Regions from separate parts of the Homo sapiens genome. Here all the other regions are linked to region 1. Evidence: promoter capture Hi-C in human tissues and cell types (Jung and others, 2019). All regions are on one chromosome and are shown on one strand. The core of a region is centred on a gene start or on the middle of the fragment in contact, and the rest is flanking DNA. Distances in the headings are between cores, read along the strand shown.

Region 1 (2,918 bases), core at 73-2,572:
TCTTCAGATCTTTTATCAGGGCCCCCTGGCACAGCTCCATACTCAGAGCAGGGCAGGAAGCACTGGCTTTGCAGCCTGACAGTCCTGGGTGACTGCCAGGGATGTGTGTTCTTGGGCAAGTGGGCTAATCTCTCTAATCTTCTGTTTGCCTATCTGTACGTGACTAGGATTAGATGGCTGTACATAGAAGCATCCAGCATAGGGCCAGGCTTGCGGTAGAAATGAGTGTTAGTCTCTGGATCCTGAGGCTGCTCCTGGTCCCTGCTCCCAATGCTTGACATTTGCCCTTAGGAAGAGCCACATGAGAAGGTTTGCCTAGCAGGTGGGAGAGAGCAACAGCATTGGAGAGAAGCAGCCTGAATGGGAGTGCAGAGCCAGAGAAGGCAGGCCAGGCACCTCCACAAGAAGGCAGCTGCTTCTGGGAAAGCAGACATCGAGTCCATGCCTCTCCCTAGTACCCTCTCCACTACAAGGCACTGGGGCATGTGACCCAGGCTGACATGCCTCCAATTCCTGCCTTCCAGCGTTATTTCCCAGAAGGGTCAGTAATGTTAGATCATGGAGACTGACAACTAGAACTGTACTGAGATCAAAGTAGTCAACATCTGGGGAATTCCAGGAGTACAGAGGGCAGCCCAAGGAAACCAGATGATTCCAGCCAGCCTACGCAGGGTGGGTGGGCACTGCCTGCTGAGTGCCTGAGTGGTGTGGGCTTAGGAGGTGGGGCTGCACCAGGCCCTCTGGCAGACCCATCATCATGCTGTTGATTGGTCTGGTAATGACAGATACCTGAGTGTGTATCTTCGATTTTCCAGTTTCTAGCTGTGTGCACCAGGGCTTGTTATTTTGGCTATGGTCCTCAGTGTTCTCATCTATAAAGGCAGGATAATATCCACTGCAGGGCTGCTATGGGGCTTAACAGCTATCACATATGCTGGAGCTGCATATGCACGCAGAACCCAGCCCATACCATGGACTCAGCATTGGCCCAGACCCTAACTGTTCCAAAAAGATGTCTGACTAGTGAATTAAGTAATTTTAAGGTACAAATGCCACCATCTTCGGTGGATGGCCAGAGCCAAACCTCCTTATTGTTCCCCTTTAGTTTACGAATAAAGCTCGTCAGGCCCTGACAGAAGAATCAGCCCCAAAGCAGAATGAAGGGAGTGTGGGGTATCAGTCACCCATCCATCTCTGACCCACGCGTTACACAGGGGCGGGTTGGTCATATGGATTCTGATCTGAAGGACGGGAGTAGGGGGTGGGTCTCTTATAGTAACCAGCTGAGGGCTCTTAAAAAATGTTCAGCGGAAACATGAACCACATCACAGAAGTAGAGGCAGACCTTGCTTCATGAGCAAGCTCATCTCTGGAACAAACTGGCAAAGCATCTCTGCTGGTGAGTCATTTGTTTTACTCTTTATATTGAAAAGAAGACAGGGAGGACTAACCCCAGGTATTGTTGGTATTCTCAGATTCCTGTCTGTAGTAGGGTACAGTGCAAAATGCCAGGCTATGGAGCTCAGCTGCTCTTCGTTCAAATTCCATCACTGCCATTTGCTGCTGTGTGGGTTAAACTGGAGAAACATGAAAACTACTGAACATGTTTCCAGGCACACAGTTAGTGCTTGCAGGCTGATGGTACTGCTAGTAATGGCATAGTCAGACCCACCCAGGGAGATAAGGAGAATCTAGTTATTGTCTATATTTGCTCAATGAATAATCTCTGTTTTCATTTCTTTTGCATAAGACAGGCTGTTTTATCAGATTATCATTTATGTTCTTTTTTCAATATAAATCAACATACTACTGTAGAAACTTTGAAAACTATTTTAAAAAAAGGAAGAAATAAGTCACCCATAATTCCACCAGCTGGAGGCCAACTGTTAATAAAATGTGATCATTTTTTCCAGGTTTCTAAAAGTACGGTCAGTTAAAATCACATAGTTTATCATGAACTCTTATGTGAGGGCCCACAGAATACATGGCAGAAGGATTCAAGGGGTTCATGGACTCCCAGAATTGTAGGGGTGTTTGTGTGTGTGCGTGTGTGTCTGTGTGTGTGTGTGTGTGTGTATATATATATACATTATTTCTGAGAAAAGGTCTGCAGTTTTTAGGAGATTCTCAAAGGAGTTTATGGTCAAAAAAGGTTAAGAATCACAATTTTATATCCTTTTGACATCTATTTGTTGTAATAGTAATAGTTAATACTTATTTTGCATATTTACTTTGTGTTTACACTGTTCTTAGCAATTTAACTGTATTGCATTTTCCAAAATCAGTAAAAATACTTCCTAAACATTTAAGTATATTCTATTTTATGTATGAATTGTAATTTGCTTCATCATTATCAGACTTTTACACTACTTCCAAAGTTGTAGATTTTTTTTTTAATTTTCAGAAAACAAAATAGGATTTTAATTATAGAGGATAAAGAAATGAATGTTTTTAGTTCGCCTAGAAGGGAAAGTAATTTTTCATACTCTATTTGCACAGCACTGTCCAGGCCCAATCTGTTTACCAATTATTATACATCAAAGTTTACCAATTATTACACATGAATTTGCACAGGTCCTTTGAGGAAATGTGTAATGGCAGCATAAGGGACCAGCAAAAGCTGGAACAGGAAGATACCAAAAAAAGGCGAGAGCGAGTCAAGCAATAATGGGGAGCTGAACATTATTCTTAAGAGCAAAGCCACCTGTTTCATATTTTAAATGATGAAAAAATATGTTTTTGCCCATGTGAATCAATAACACATACACATCATCTGACCTACTTAATACAGTGCCCCAGAGAGCTTGTGGGGGGCAGGATGTCTACTGGCTGACCTATCACCCTTAGAGATCTAACAATTGTGACGTAAGGGCAAGGATTTTTATTAAGCAGTCTTAGCCCAAAGGCAGCATCCTTCC
Region 2 (2,899 bases), core at 5-2,504, 260 kb after region 1:
TGAAACTGACCACAGTGGGGGCATTTATACCATGAAAATCAACAAATGTTATAAAGCAGGGATCTTTTCTTCAGAAGAGTCAGTTGTTGAACATTTACCAGCACATCACTGCCCAGGCCCCACATTCTGAACAGTCCAGCACTGTCCCACTGCTCGGTGCGGGAACTAAAGGATCAGTGAGTGGCACATAGCCTGGTGCCAGGTTGTGCAAACTTTTGGGAGTTTCCATCTCTTCTTTGAAATCTGGGACCCACCAAGACCACCTATGAAGTAGATACCTATACGGAGCCACCATGCCCCTCTATCTTCAGAACAAAATCCTGACCTGTGTCTTTGTTAGTAGAGCAGAACAGATGCCCCCCAAGATCACCTGGCCAGCTCCTTGCCTTTGGGTGAGTGAAAGCCTACCTCTTCCAAAGATAGCAGTGCCAATTTTGAGGATCCTTGGTTCTAGTCTTCTTAAGAGATAGGTTCAGTATCAAATCATCCTTGCATCTGCCAAGATTTTTCTAGCTAATATTTCCCTCTTGCTATAATTTCTTCATACACCATGTTTGGTTTTCCTTTACATGGGGGAATTTGGCAAGCAATTTTTTTTTTTTTTTCAGACAGACTCTTGCTCTGTCGCCAGGCTGGAGTGTAGTGGTGCAATCTCAGCTCACTGCAACCTCCACCTCCCGGATTCGAGTGATTCTCCTGCCTCAGCCTCTTGAGTAGCTGGGACTACAGGCATGCGCCACCATGCCCGGCTAATTTTTATTTTTAGTAGAGACAGGGTTTCACCATATGGCCAGGATTGTCTCCATCTCTTGACCTCATGATCCACCTGCCTCGGTCTCCCAAAGTGCTGGGATTACAGCCGTGAGCCACTGCGCCCCGCCAAGTAATTTCTTATTGAATAGGTTTCCACAGAAAACACCTTTTGTCCCTTAGTACTGACTGACTTTCTTAATCAGTAACCAAAAGCCAATCCTTCAAGTAAGCTTCCTTTTTAGCAAAAAAGCCTATATTTCATCTGAGCACCCAGCTTTATAAATCCACCATTCTCAGTATTGCTACAGTATTAATTGCCTTGGAGATGCATCCATGGGCTACTTAGACATTTGCCCAGCCTACTCAAAGAATTCCCCCTACCTTTGAGGAGCCCCTAGCTGCATGCATGTCTTTGAACAACACTGCCCTCCACAGTAACAGATAAGACAGAAAAGACAAGTGACACTTACTCTGGTTCCAAGGGACTTTGTCCGTGAAGTCTTTGTTTCTGGGGCTTTCTGGGTTTTTATGAATTCAAGTTTCAAGATCCTGACCAAGTAGGAAGTACTCAGCTTCCTGTGTGATGATGGAGAATTGGCTCCAGTTTCACAGTCTTTCAAAATGACAAGAAAGGGACAAAGTTCTTCTTTTTGTGTGGTTTGGTGCTCATGAATGGCCACAACGCCCACCAGTGGCCACTTCCTGGAAGCCAAGTTAACTGCGAGGATTTTCTCTGCTCACTCTGAGCCTCTTGAGTCTTGGCCCTGGGAGCTCAGCCTTAAGGGAATTGGGGGCAGGTGAAGCTGAGTTGGGTGAGGTGGGTGGCAGTGAGATGTTCCCAGAATGTTTGGAGCAATTGAAGTGTGGGATGTGTGTATGTGGGATGGGGGCAGGGCATAGAGCTCTTGTGGTCAGCGGCAGACTTCTTTTTTTTCTTCTTCTTAAAGATTGTGAATGGAAGGATTTAAACTGGAACCCTGAGTCCTGTTCCTCAAAACTAACTGACATGGGTGCTCACAGAGGCAGCAGCTTCTCTTTGGCACCCTATGCCCCTCGGCTTCTGGGAGCTCATTGTCCCTCTGCTCTCTGCTCCCCAAGTCCCTCCCCACCAAACCTCAGAGAGTGGCTTTGCCCCAGGAACCTCCAGCATGAAGGGAATATAGGTCTGTTGGTTACATTTTGACCTTCCCTTTCTGATGCCCCATTCCTGTTTTACGTGATGGTCAAACATGGGCCAAGTTCAAATCCCAGCTCTCCACCTGTGACATGGGCAGATCACTCACCTTTCTAAGTCTTGGTTCCTACTCTGCTAAATGGGAGTATTGAATGCTTACCTCAGAGGAGAAGCACGAAGTCAACTTGTACATGAAAAATGTCAGAGTGCCTGGCACAGTGAAAAATGTCTGACAAATGATGAGTACTGTGACTCTCCTCACAACTGCCAACACCTACTCTGCCTCTGCCCTTGTGTCTTCTATAAAGTGGGGACACCCCTAACCTTCCTCACGGCATTGCTACAAAGCACTGTTTCAGAAATCATCAGTGTGAATGTGCTTTGAAAAGATCACTTGTCTCTTCATGGTTCAGTTTTCTTATCTGTAAAATGAAGAATTCAGACAAGATGGCCTAAGCTTGACATCTGATCATCACTCAGCTTCACCCCAAAGAAATAAATGGGGGTCTGCATGTGCCTGGCTATTTGCAGTACTTTGCTGGTGGATCAGTTTCCAAAGAGAACAGAGGCTTGTGAGGCCTGCCTTTTCCTTGATCCTGTCTAAAGTAAGGGACATGGTCAGTACCTCATCCTTGACCAGGCTTCCAGCTCTGCTCTAGGTTTCATTCCACAGAGGGGATGTACCAGGCAAATCTGCTTGTTCATTGAACAAATATTTATTCAGTACTCACAATGTGCCGGACATTGTGTTAGGTGCTTGGGATATAGTGGTGAAGAAAGAGGCTGGATCCATTCTTTGAGAGCTTATAGCTTAGGAAGGATCACAAACAATTAACCAAGTTACCACAATGAGGAACAGCTTTTGTAGTGGCCTGGGAAATACCCTGGGCTAAGGAAGGGTGCATCGAGGGTGGGAAGGGGTGAGGAAGTCCTTTAGAGCAGTGGTTCTCAAAGTGAGGTCCCTGGACCAGC
Region 3 (3,193 bases), core at 654-3,153, 450 kb before region 1:
ACGCCCAGCTAATTGTTCGTATTTTTAGTAGAGATGGGGTTTCACCATGTTGGCCAGTATGGTCTCGATCTTTTGACCTCGTGATCCACCCACCTCAGCCTCCCAAAGTGCTGGGATTACAAGCGTGAGCCACCACACCCAGCCTGTGGCTTTATTCTTATGACATTTTAAATTCATACTTATAGCTCTCTCAAAAGCTGATGGAAAACTGCATTAAAATTTAAAAAGAAACCAATTGATGAATTTCATTTCTTTCTTAGGTGCAAGGGAGCAGCCAAGAGAGAGACAGACACGATGGATACCTTTGTTGATTCTGCTTGGTACTACTTCAGATACACTGACCCTCATAATCCACACAGGTAAAACGTCCCTGCTGATGTCTTTGAGCATTTGTCAGTGTGGCTCCTCCTAGAAGCAAAGACCAAGATGGAATTAGACATGCAAGAGATTTCTTGGGGGGAAATGCCTGTGCAGATTAAAGGGGAGAAGAGGAGGAGTGGGCAGAGAGTGCTCTTAGACCACGATGGAGCTGTGACAGGTGTGAAAGGAGAAGGGAAAGGAAGGAGGATCAGGTGGAGGAGCCTCAGCCCACAGCACAACTCTGAGAAAGCCTCGACCTGGCCAGTGGGAAGGCCCAAGCAAAGCTTGTCCATTAGAGTCTTACAGTCAGGCTAAAATGGCTCTGCTCCAGCCCCTCCCTCTACTCTCCTGGGAGCAGCCTGGGAGAGCAACATGGGCTGGCAGGAACACACCAGAGTGGGTCCACAGATGCAGCAGCTGGAAGCTGTCAGTCAACTGTGCACCTCGGAACAGGCTCTCTTAAAGGGAGAGTGCTACATCATTAAGTTAGATTATTCACAGCCAAGTAAATCCCAAGTACAACACAAATACAAAACGGAAAAAGAAGGAAATGCTACTGTGATACCCTCCTTGCAGTGAACTGCATTTGTATGATTGTAAAGATGTAATGTTATTTATTTAACTGAAAAGAATAATGTAACTCTACAGAGAAGGTAGCAGGTAGGGAGGGTGAGACCGCTAAGAAGCCTCACCTCTTACTACATAGTAGATCATTTCCTAAATTGATAAATCAATAAAGAGTATAAACATGTTTTTTTTTTTCAATAATTGCTGGGAGAAACAACCAAAAGAATTAAAAGTGGCTAAGAGACAGGCCTGAGGCAAGGAAAGAATTGGGGCTGGAGACCACTGTTTTTCATTGTAAATCTTTCAGTACCATTTTGATTTTTAAGCTGTATTCATGTGTTTATTTGAACCCCGCCCCCCCCAAAAAAAGAAACAAATTAAGGAAAAGAGAGCAGTAGGTAGCCTTATAAAGAGAGAGAATGAGAACCGAAAGAAACTCTTCCAGAGCCCAGGAAAAAACACAGCATTGTGCTTAAAAGGGCCTTGCCTAATTGCTCTTGTCCATGGCAGAAACATTCTGGAACCCTGTTGCCTACATATAAAATATGCCTCCCTATTCTTCGTGGTTCTAAAATAATATCTTTCTAGTGAGACAGATACTCCTGCCCTCACCCTGCCAGAATTTCAACCTGCAGTGTTGTGATTCTGTAATTTGAGTTCATATCAGATATAAGGGGGATCCTTGTCAGGCATGGTGGCTCACGCCTGTAATTCCAGCGCTTTGGGAGGCCGAGGCAGGCTGATCACCTGAGGTCAGGAGTTGGAGACCAGCCTGACTAACATGGCAAAACCCCAACTCTACCAAAAATACAAAAATTAGCTGGACACGGTGGCACGCACCTGTAATCCCAGCTACTCAGGAGTCTGAGACAGGAGAATCGCTTGAACCCGGGAGGCAGAGGTTGCAGTGAGCTGAGCTCGTGCCACTGCACTCCAGCCTGGGCAACAAAGTGAGACTTCCTCTCAAAAAAAAAAAAAGAAAAAAAAGAAATGAGGGGGATCCTGAGTGAAAGACACCCTGCAAAGGCAGGAAGGGTGCAAGGTGACGACTGTGGCTGGGAACCACCAGCATGGCCTTCTCTGGCCCACAGAGGGGCTCCCCTTCAGGGCCTTCCCTCTATAAGGGGCCATTGGTGCATTTCATGTAGTAACAACTGGCTTAGAATGCAAGTGAGGTCAGGCTCTTTCCTTTCTCAGAGTGCTTCAAAGGAAAGCCTTCACACAGATGAGAGAGACCTCAAGTTACCGTGGCGGGAGAGACATCCTGAGACCGTCACAGCCCCCAGTTTGTGAACAGCAGTGAGCACTTCATTTCCCTCATGACACACTGTAGTTAGCTTCAGCCCCAGCACGAGTTCTTCCTGGGGTGGTTTCCTGAGTGGATCATAAATCTGAGCTGTAGCTACTTTCAACATTTCACTCCTTAATATATCCCAAACTTGTTTTCCGGCCAAATACCATCCTTCACTTTCCTTTCTTTTCTGTCGCCTGGATTGGCAGTTGAATTTCTTTAGGGAACTGTTTTTCACGAAGAAAAAAAGTGTTTTTTAAAAATTTTATCAGAATTCTGGTACAGTGACTGGAGAACACCAAACTATATTAAGATGCAAATATGTGGTGGTAGCCAGGCTCTTTTTTCTAGCCTCAAAGCTGAAGCCAGCCAAGTCTATCCTGGGGAAAAAGGTGGCTTGAGGTGTCAGGGAACCAATTCACAAATATTCGAAGTCCTCCAAAGGCAAAGGTTTGCTTGATTGGCTGACCTCAAGGGACGGCATTACCTTGGCAACACAGAGGTCTGTCGCCAGCCAGTGCTGCCCCTCCCACCGAAGGTCCCAGCCAGAAAATGGAAATGACATTTCCTTTCCTCTCCAGTGTCCTTTAGGACCCAAGAGTATGAGAAAGCCTTTCTATTAGTATCTGTTAGGTGAGAGTTATTGGGCTATTATATGACAAGTCACCTTAAATATGTTGCATCGCATTCAGTAAGCAATATACAGTCTCTAGCTGAGTATATTTTCAGACTGCTTTAAAAAATAAAATCAAATTTCTATTTTAAAATAAACATTTACAGCTGGGGCACAGTGGCTCACATGTGTAATCCCATAACTTGGGGAGGCCGAGGCAGGAAGATGACTTGAGGCCAGGAGTTCAAGACCAGCTGGACTGAACGTAGCAAGACCTCGTCTCCATAAAAAATGTTTTAAAAAAATTAACTGATGGCCAGGTGCAGTGGCTCACACCTGTAGTCCCAGCACTTTGGGAGGCC
Region 4 (3,038 bases), core at 292-2,791, 350 kb after region 1:
AAATCCTGCCTAGCTGTGGAAGGCCCTCTCCCCTCATCTTGGATGTCCTCAGCTTTCTTTAGACTCACACTCTGCATTGTGGCCCAAAAGGACAGATCACCTGGATTTTGTACACAGATTTAGATGGTGTCTGTACTTTTTCTGCCAGGCCCCACCCAGTGGATTAAGCTGTTACGAGATGGAACCAGAAACCTGGGTCAGGACACACCATCGGCCCCTGTGTAGGATTCTTCATGTGACAGCTACTCCTTCAGATGCAATTTGGCCATCCAGCCATTTGCCCTGCCCCTGGCCCAGGGTAGTCCCTACTTCCTCCGGTCACCTATTGATTCATATGTGTCAGTTATGACACCTTAGACGTTGCTCAGTGACCTTGGGTGAGGCGAGCAGCAATGGAATAATAAGCACCCACCTGTTTCTGAGCTGCGTCTTGGTCCCACCCATGTTCACAGCCTCCATGACCTTGAGGCTGTGTGGCTCTTCTGCAGAAAGCACGGCACACAGGATCCCCAGTTGAGGCAGTGTGCAAACAACAGAGAAAGGATTAGTGAGATGTGGATGGGGCAGGCATCCACGTCTTCTCTATTCCAGAAAGAAGGCTGATATCACAGAGCAAGGGGGAGTCCCAGGGAACTGGCAAAGCAACTGTGACACATCCCAGGAGTGAGTGGGCTTGGGGGCTTGCTGGGGCAGGGAGTTGTAGACTCTCAAAAAGCAGAGGGGGAGATGAATCATGTAGATAACTCAAAACCTGCAAGAAGGAAATTACTTTAAGTACTTAAACTCAAAGGTTGTTAGTTTCAATCCTTCTACAGAAGCCAAGACAAAAAGGTGAAAGAACAGGTGAGGAGAAGGGGATTTCAACACAGGAATTGAAACTGAGACATCCTGGGGCTGCGAGAGGGGCAGAGGTTTTCTTCTCTTTAATTGTCCATGATCCTAGCTCCAATTCCTGAAACTGAAGAATCAGGTTAGTTTTTGTGATTTTCTGATAGCTTCCATGGTGCCCACCAAACACTTAGAACCAGCGTCCATGGACACAGTATTGAATTAAGCATTATGGCATGCACAGAGGATGTGAAACAATTGGAAGGCAATGAACAGCAGTGCCATGGTTTGATGTAGGGCTTCCTTATTCACAGTGAAGTTCATGGACTAACAGCATCCATACCCTCTGGGAGCTTTTCAGAAAGGCTGAATCTCAAGCCCCACCCCAGAGCTACTGATCAGAATCTGCATTTTTAGCAAGACTCCCAGATGATTTGTAGGCAGGTTAAAGTTTTAGAAATGCTTATATAGGCAATAAGGCAGACAGAAGAGACTGCCTGAAGTGGAGGCTGAGGCAATGTGCAAACAACAGAGAAGGGGCTGAAATTGGGGCTGCTACAGAAAGCTTCATGGACAAGTGGAGACTGGGCCAACACACAGGGCCTTTCTTTCCTTTACTCATGTGACCTTCCTACTGGGGGAATATGTGTTTGGTTACAAGTAATACACTGCCTCTCCAGCAAGGTGTCCAGGGATGTTACTTTTGCTTTCAGGAAACCCATGAAAAGGAAATTTCAACTCCTGTAATCAGGAAAGAAAGGAATAGCTCATGTGCTAAGAATGGCCTTCGTCCCTTAGCAAGGAACTGCTCTCTGAGTGCAGAAAGAGAGATTGAATGCCTACCCGAGCCAGACACTCCCCGGCTTTCTCTCCCCACTCGAAACACTGCTTACTGGACTGTGCCTCAGCTTGTCACCACCGACTCCCAGTGAGGAGTGCTCTATTTTAAAATTGCCCTTTGAGGCAGGGTCAGTGGCTCACTCCTATAATCCCAGCACTCTGGGAGGCCGAGGTGGGTGGATCACCTGAGGTCAGGAGTTCGAGATCAGCCTGGTTAACATGGTGAAACCCCATCTCCACTAGAAATACAAAAACTAGCCAGGTGTGGTGGCAGGTGCCTGTAATCCCAGCTACTCGGGAGGCTGAGGCAGGAGAATCACTTGAACCCAGGAGGCGGAGGTTGCAGTGAGCCAAAATGGCACCCCTGCACTCCAGCCTGGGCAACAGAGACTCCGTCTCAAAAAATAAATAAAAAATAAAATAAAATTGCCCTTCGAAGCTGTCTTTACTCCATGGATCTTCAAAAGGACGTTCATTACATTGCACTGGTAGTTGCCATCCTGTTCTCCAGGACACACTAATTAATGACTGCTACAGAAAAACAGGACAAGAGGAAGAAGAAGTCAAAGATGGTCTTCTGTGCTCCAGAAGCTCTGGAAGATGTGAGACTTGCAGAGCCTTTGATACACCAGTGTGGGACTCTAAGCTTATTTAAGCACTTTTTTCAAGATGTAAAAGACTTCAGGACAGGCTTCATCGCTTCTGTGTCTTCTCAAAGAAAACCCATTTTCTCTGAGACATTTTTCTCCTTGAATCCTGTACCAAGAATGACTGTGAATCTACTGGGGAACTACCTTGCCTGATCTTCTGAGTCTAAAAAATCAGAACATATGGCCGGGCACGGAGCTCACGCCTGCACTTTGGGAGGACAAGGCAGACAGATCACGAGGTCAAGAGATGAAGACCATCCTAGCCAACATGGGGAAACCCGGCCTCTACTAAAAATACAAAAATTAGCTGGGAGTTGTGGCGCATGCCTATAGTCCCAGCTACTTGGGAGGCTGAGGCAGGAGAATCACTTGAACCTGGCAGGCAAAGGTTGCAGTGATCTGAGATCACACCACTGCACTCTAGCCTGGTAACAAAGCGAGACTCCACCTCAAAACAAACAAACAAACAACATAAAAAAGAATCAGAACATAGATGTGTTCTGCTCTTTGCTCTGGTTGCTGGACAGCTGACAGCCACGTTGTTGTAGGGCATACAGCAATTCTGAACCTTGGAGCACACCCCTGGTGGCCTGGATCTGGTGTCCACTTGTTTTCTTCCATTTCTCATCTATTTATTTTCAGTGTTTTTCATGGCATATCTCTTATTTGTATGTCACATTGCATCTTTTTTCAAATGAAAACTGAGAGGCTAACTGCCTT
Region 5 (3,131 bases), core at 326-2,825, 330 kb after region 1:
ATCACCACCCAGGACAGCGTATGTATGTCAGTTCATCGTAAACCAATCAGTTTAGTGGGTCTTTCTACTCCATCATTTTTATTTAGTTGAGCTTTTCTTGAGTGCCTATATTTAATACCCTGCCCTAGAAGCTATAGTAGATACAAAGATGAGTATGACTTTGTGTGAGCTACATCCTAAGGAGGAAAACATGCAACTTATGATGTAAAAGTATCCCCCACAAAAAAGTAGGAATGGCTCAGGTCTCCATTCCCTTTGGTTCTGCCTAGTTATGGCTTCTAGGGGAAGTAAGTTCTAAGCTTCTGATTAACTTATGCCTCTCAGTAGAGATCATATGACTGTGCAATGTGAGCCTTGCCAGCTCTCCATCCAACAGCTGTCTGTTAGGTGATCCGGACAGGGTGCACAAACACTGCTTCAGGTTAAGTGAAAGATGCAAAAATGTGTAAGACAAGCACAATCCCTGCCCCTATGAAACCTTCAGTCTAGAAGGTGTATAAGATGGAAACAAACAACTCTGGTGCAAAGGGGTAGACACTCAATGCTATGCCTGGGCCAGGAAGGGAAAAACGACTTCTTGTGGGAACGTGAGGGGAGGAAGATTTCATGGAGGAAGTAGCTTTTGAGCAGTTTTCTGAAAGAAAGGCAGGATTTAGAAAGGGAGAGAATTTGGGAGAAGGCACCTTTAACCCAAGGGAATGCCCCATCCCAAGGGGAGAGAGGAGGGTATGCATATTTGTGGACAGGAGGGTGGCATGGGCAGGGTAGGGTGGGCCATGAACTTCACACAAGGGGAGCTATGGAAGGGTTTAGAGCAGGGGAGAAAAACAATGTAGGAAGATACATCTGGTAACACATAGAGCATGGAGGGGAGGCCTCAGAACCATGCAGGAGGGAAGTTAGGAGGTGAGTGCAAGTTTGGAGGCAAGGAAAGATCAGCAGCTGGTAAGAGAGGTTCCAGGAGCACTCAGGAGAATTTGACCAAGAGATAGCATGAAGGATGAATTAAAGCACTAGGAGTGATATATGGCTGAGTGCAAAAATCAAAGGGCAAGGCTGGGCATGGTGGCTCATGCCTGTAATCCCAGCACTTTGGGAGGCCGAGGCAGGCGGATCACGAGGTCAGGAGATAGAGACCATGCTGGCCAACATGGCAAAACCCTATCTTTACTAAAGTACAAAAATTAGCTGGGTGTGGTGGCAGGTACCTGTAATCCCAGCTACTCAGGAGGCTGAGGCAGGAGAATCACTTGAACCCGGGAGGCAAGTTTGCAGTGAGCCGAGATGGCGCCACTGCACTTCAGCCTGAGTGACAAGAGCAAGACGTTGTAAAAAATTTTAAAAAATGAAAATATAAAATCAAAGGGCAAAGCAGAGTGTATCATATGCTTAAACACAGACACACACACACACACACACACACACACACACACACACACACACGTTTTACTCTGTACTTAGGTGTATAGACCATCTCTCTAAGGATACAAAAGAAACCAGTACCAATATGGGGTGGCTGGAGAAGAGGAAAAGAAGCATGAGTTTTTGTGCCTTCTGGATTTTCAATCATGGGGACATACTTCTCATTCAAAAAATAAATACAACCTTAGAATGATATAAAAAATAAAAGGCTAGGCTGCTATGTAGATGTTCAGAAGTAGGCATACGTCCTACCAGCCATAAGGAGATTAGAAGCCTCCTGCCATGAATTAATCCTGTGACCTGGCACAAATTATTTGGCCTCTTTTGGCCCCAATTTCCTCATCCATATAATAAAAAAGTTGGATTAAATCATCTCTAAGGCCCCTCTGTGGCCCAAGTAGACTCTAATCTTGCTAAAATGTTAGGAGCTGGAGGCTCTAAGTTTACAAAATATATGATAAAAAAAAAAAAGGAGGAGAAGAGTGGTGGACAAGCCCACAGCATTACCTCCATTGGTCGTGAGGCCAGGCATGGTTCCCACTGTTCACTAAGGGGTACTCAGGTTTTGTTCATTCATTTGGTCATTTACCATTCAGCAAACATTTGCTGAGCATCCACCATGTTCTTAGCTAAGTTCTGAGGAAACAAACAAGGGCACACCCACAGGTGTCCAATTCAGTCTGACAGTGAGCTCCTTGGGGATGTCCAATTCAATCTCAACTTGGATGCTGCCTGCAGGGGGCTCACCATCAGACTGAATTGGACACTGCTCTTGTTCTCCACTGCCAGAGTTCATGATCATGCCTTATAAAGGAATTACCAATGCTTGAATTCAACCCAGATGAAAGTTCCACGTGAAGACCAGAAGACATTTTTTATTTCCCAATCCAATGCTTGGAGAAAGGGAGTGCATTCTCTTGGTCATGATTCCATCCATCCTCACCCTCTGGTGAGTGGCCTGGCCTTTTGTCACTGTCTTGCCTATCTAAGAGCTCTGCATGGCCAACACAGGATGTGAACTCTGTAACACTCTAAACCACGCAACATGAATCTCAATTTGGCTAGGACAATTTGAAGTACGTCTCTTTTTTGTGGTTCAGCCAAAATGTAAATAAAACAATCATTTAAAAACTGAACTACACATCACTGGTTCTCTCTTGCATTATGAAGTTGCATCTGCCTTAGGTAACCACAAGTGCAGGATAGAGATGCTTGTTCATACCATACTCCTCTTACCCTTGAAAGCTTTTAGGAGCTTTTTGACTCTCTCAAACTTCACATAACCAAATCATGAATTGGTGTGTGCTGCTTTGTTCCCCATCCCAGCTCTGTTCAAGAACTATAGAAATACACTGAGAGAAATGTTCTATATCTGCACTGTCCAATATGATCGCCACATGCAGCTATTGAGCACTTGAGCACTTGAAATGTGGCTTAGGTGGCTAAGGCACTGAATTTTTAAATTTTATTCAATTTAAATTACTTTGGATTTAAATTTAAATGGCCACATTGGTAGTGGTGCAGCAGCAGCCCCTTCAAACCTGCCTCTTGACCCCTCCTCTACCTATGCATCCAGCACCCTGTAGCCCTCAAACACATGCCCTGAACACTGCACAATAGGGAAAATCCTGGTGATGCAAAATGAACGAGATCCATTTCTAGAACACTCACTCACCGTTCAGTGGAAGAGACCCACCTGATTCCTGTGG

Evidence for each region. The method cuts DNA at HindIII sites, captures the fragments that hold promoters and counts their contacts. A contact is called where the count stands out against the background at its distance.
Region 2: the fragment with the promoter of CCR1 here is called in contact with the fragment with the promoter of CXCR6 in region 1 in 6 of the 25 tissues and cell types used here (IMR-90 fibroblasts, bladder, mesenchymal stem cells and 3 more).
Region 3: a contact is called between a fragment that was not itself captured here and the fragment with the promoter of CXCR6 in region 1, in 1 of the 25 tissues and cell types used here (lymphoblastoid cells).
Region 4: a contact is called between a fragment that was not itself captured here and the fragment with the promoter of CXCR6 in region 1, in 2 of the 25 tissues and cell types used here (IMR-90 fibroblasts and lymphoblastoid cells).
Region 5: a fragment that was not itself captured here is called in contact with the fragment with the promoter of CXCR6 in region 1 in 1 of the 25 tissues and cell types used here (adrenal gland).

Annotation. Positions count from the first base shown.
Region 1 is chr3:45,942,142-45,945,059 of GRCh38, forward strand. It overlaps CXCR6 (C-X-C motif chemokine receptor 6), which reads left to right and starts at 1,323. Exons shown (of 2, transcript NM_006564.2): 1 at 1,323-1,399. All of the region lies in intron 14 of FYCO1 (FYVE and coiled-coil domain autophagy adaptor 1), which reads right to left. The HindIII fragment of the contact is 14,146 bases long and covers 1-2,918 here.
Region 2 is chr3:46,207,059-46,209,957 of GRCh38, forward strand. CCR1 (C-C motif chemokine receptor 1) reads right to left here and starts at 1,255. Exons shown (of 2, transcript NM_001295.3): 1 at 1,224-1,255. The HindIII fragment of the contact is 6,364 bases long and covers 1-2,899 here.
Region 3 is chr3:45,496,015-45,499,207 of GRCh38, forward strand. It overlaps LARS2 (leucyl-tRNA synthetase 2, mitochondrial), which reads left to right. Exons shown (of 22, transcript NM_015340.4): 14 at 261-359. The region is part of intron 2 of LARS2-AS1 (LARS2 antisense RNA 1); the gene reads right to left. Among named protein-coding and RNA genes, the nearest start is that of LARS2-AS1, 12 kb to the right of the region's middle. The HindIII fragment of the contact is 5,058 bases long and covers 1-3,193 here.
Region 4 is chr3:46,293,499-46,296,536 of GRCh38, forward strand. No RefSeq gene overlaps it. Among named protein-coding and RNA genes, the nearest start is that of CCR3, 53 kb to the left of the region's middle. The HindIII fragment of the contact is 4,646 bases long and covers 1-3,038 here.
Region 5 is chr3:46,267,232-46,270,362 of GRCh38, forward strand. No RefSeq gene overlaps it. Among named protein-coding and RNA genes, the nearest start is that of CCR3, 26 kb to the left of the region's middle. The HindIII fragment of the contact is 5,988 bases long and covers 1-3,131 here.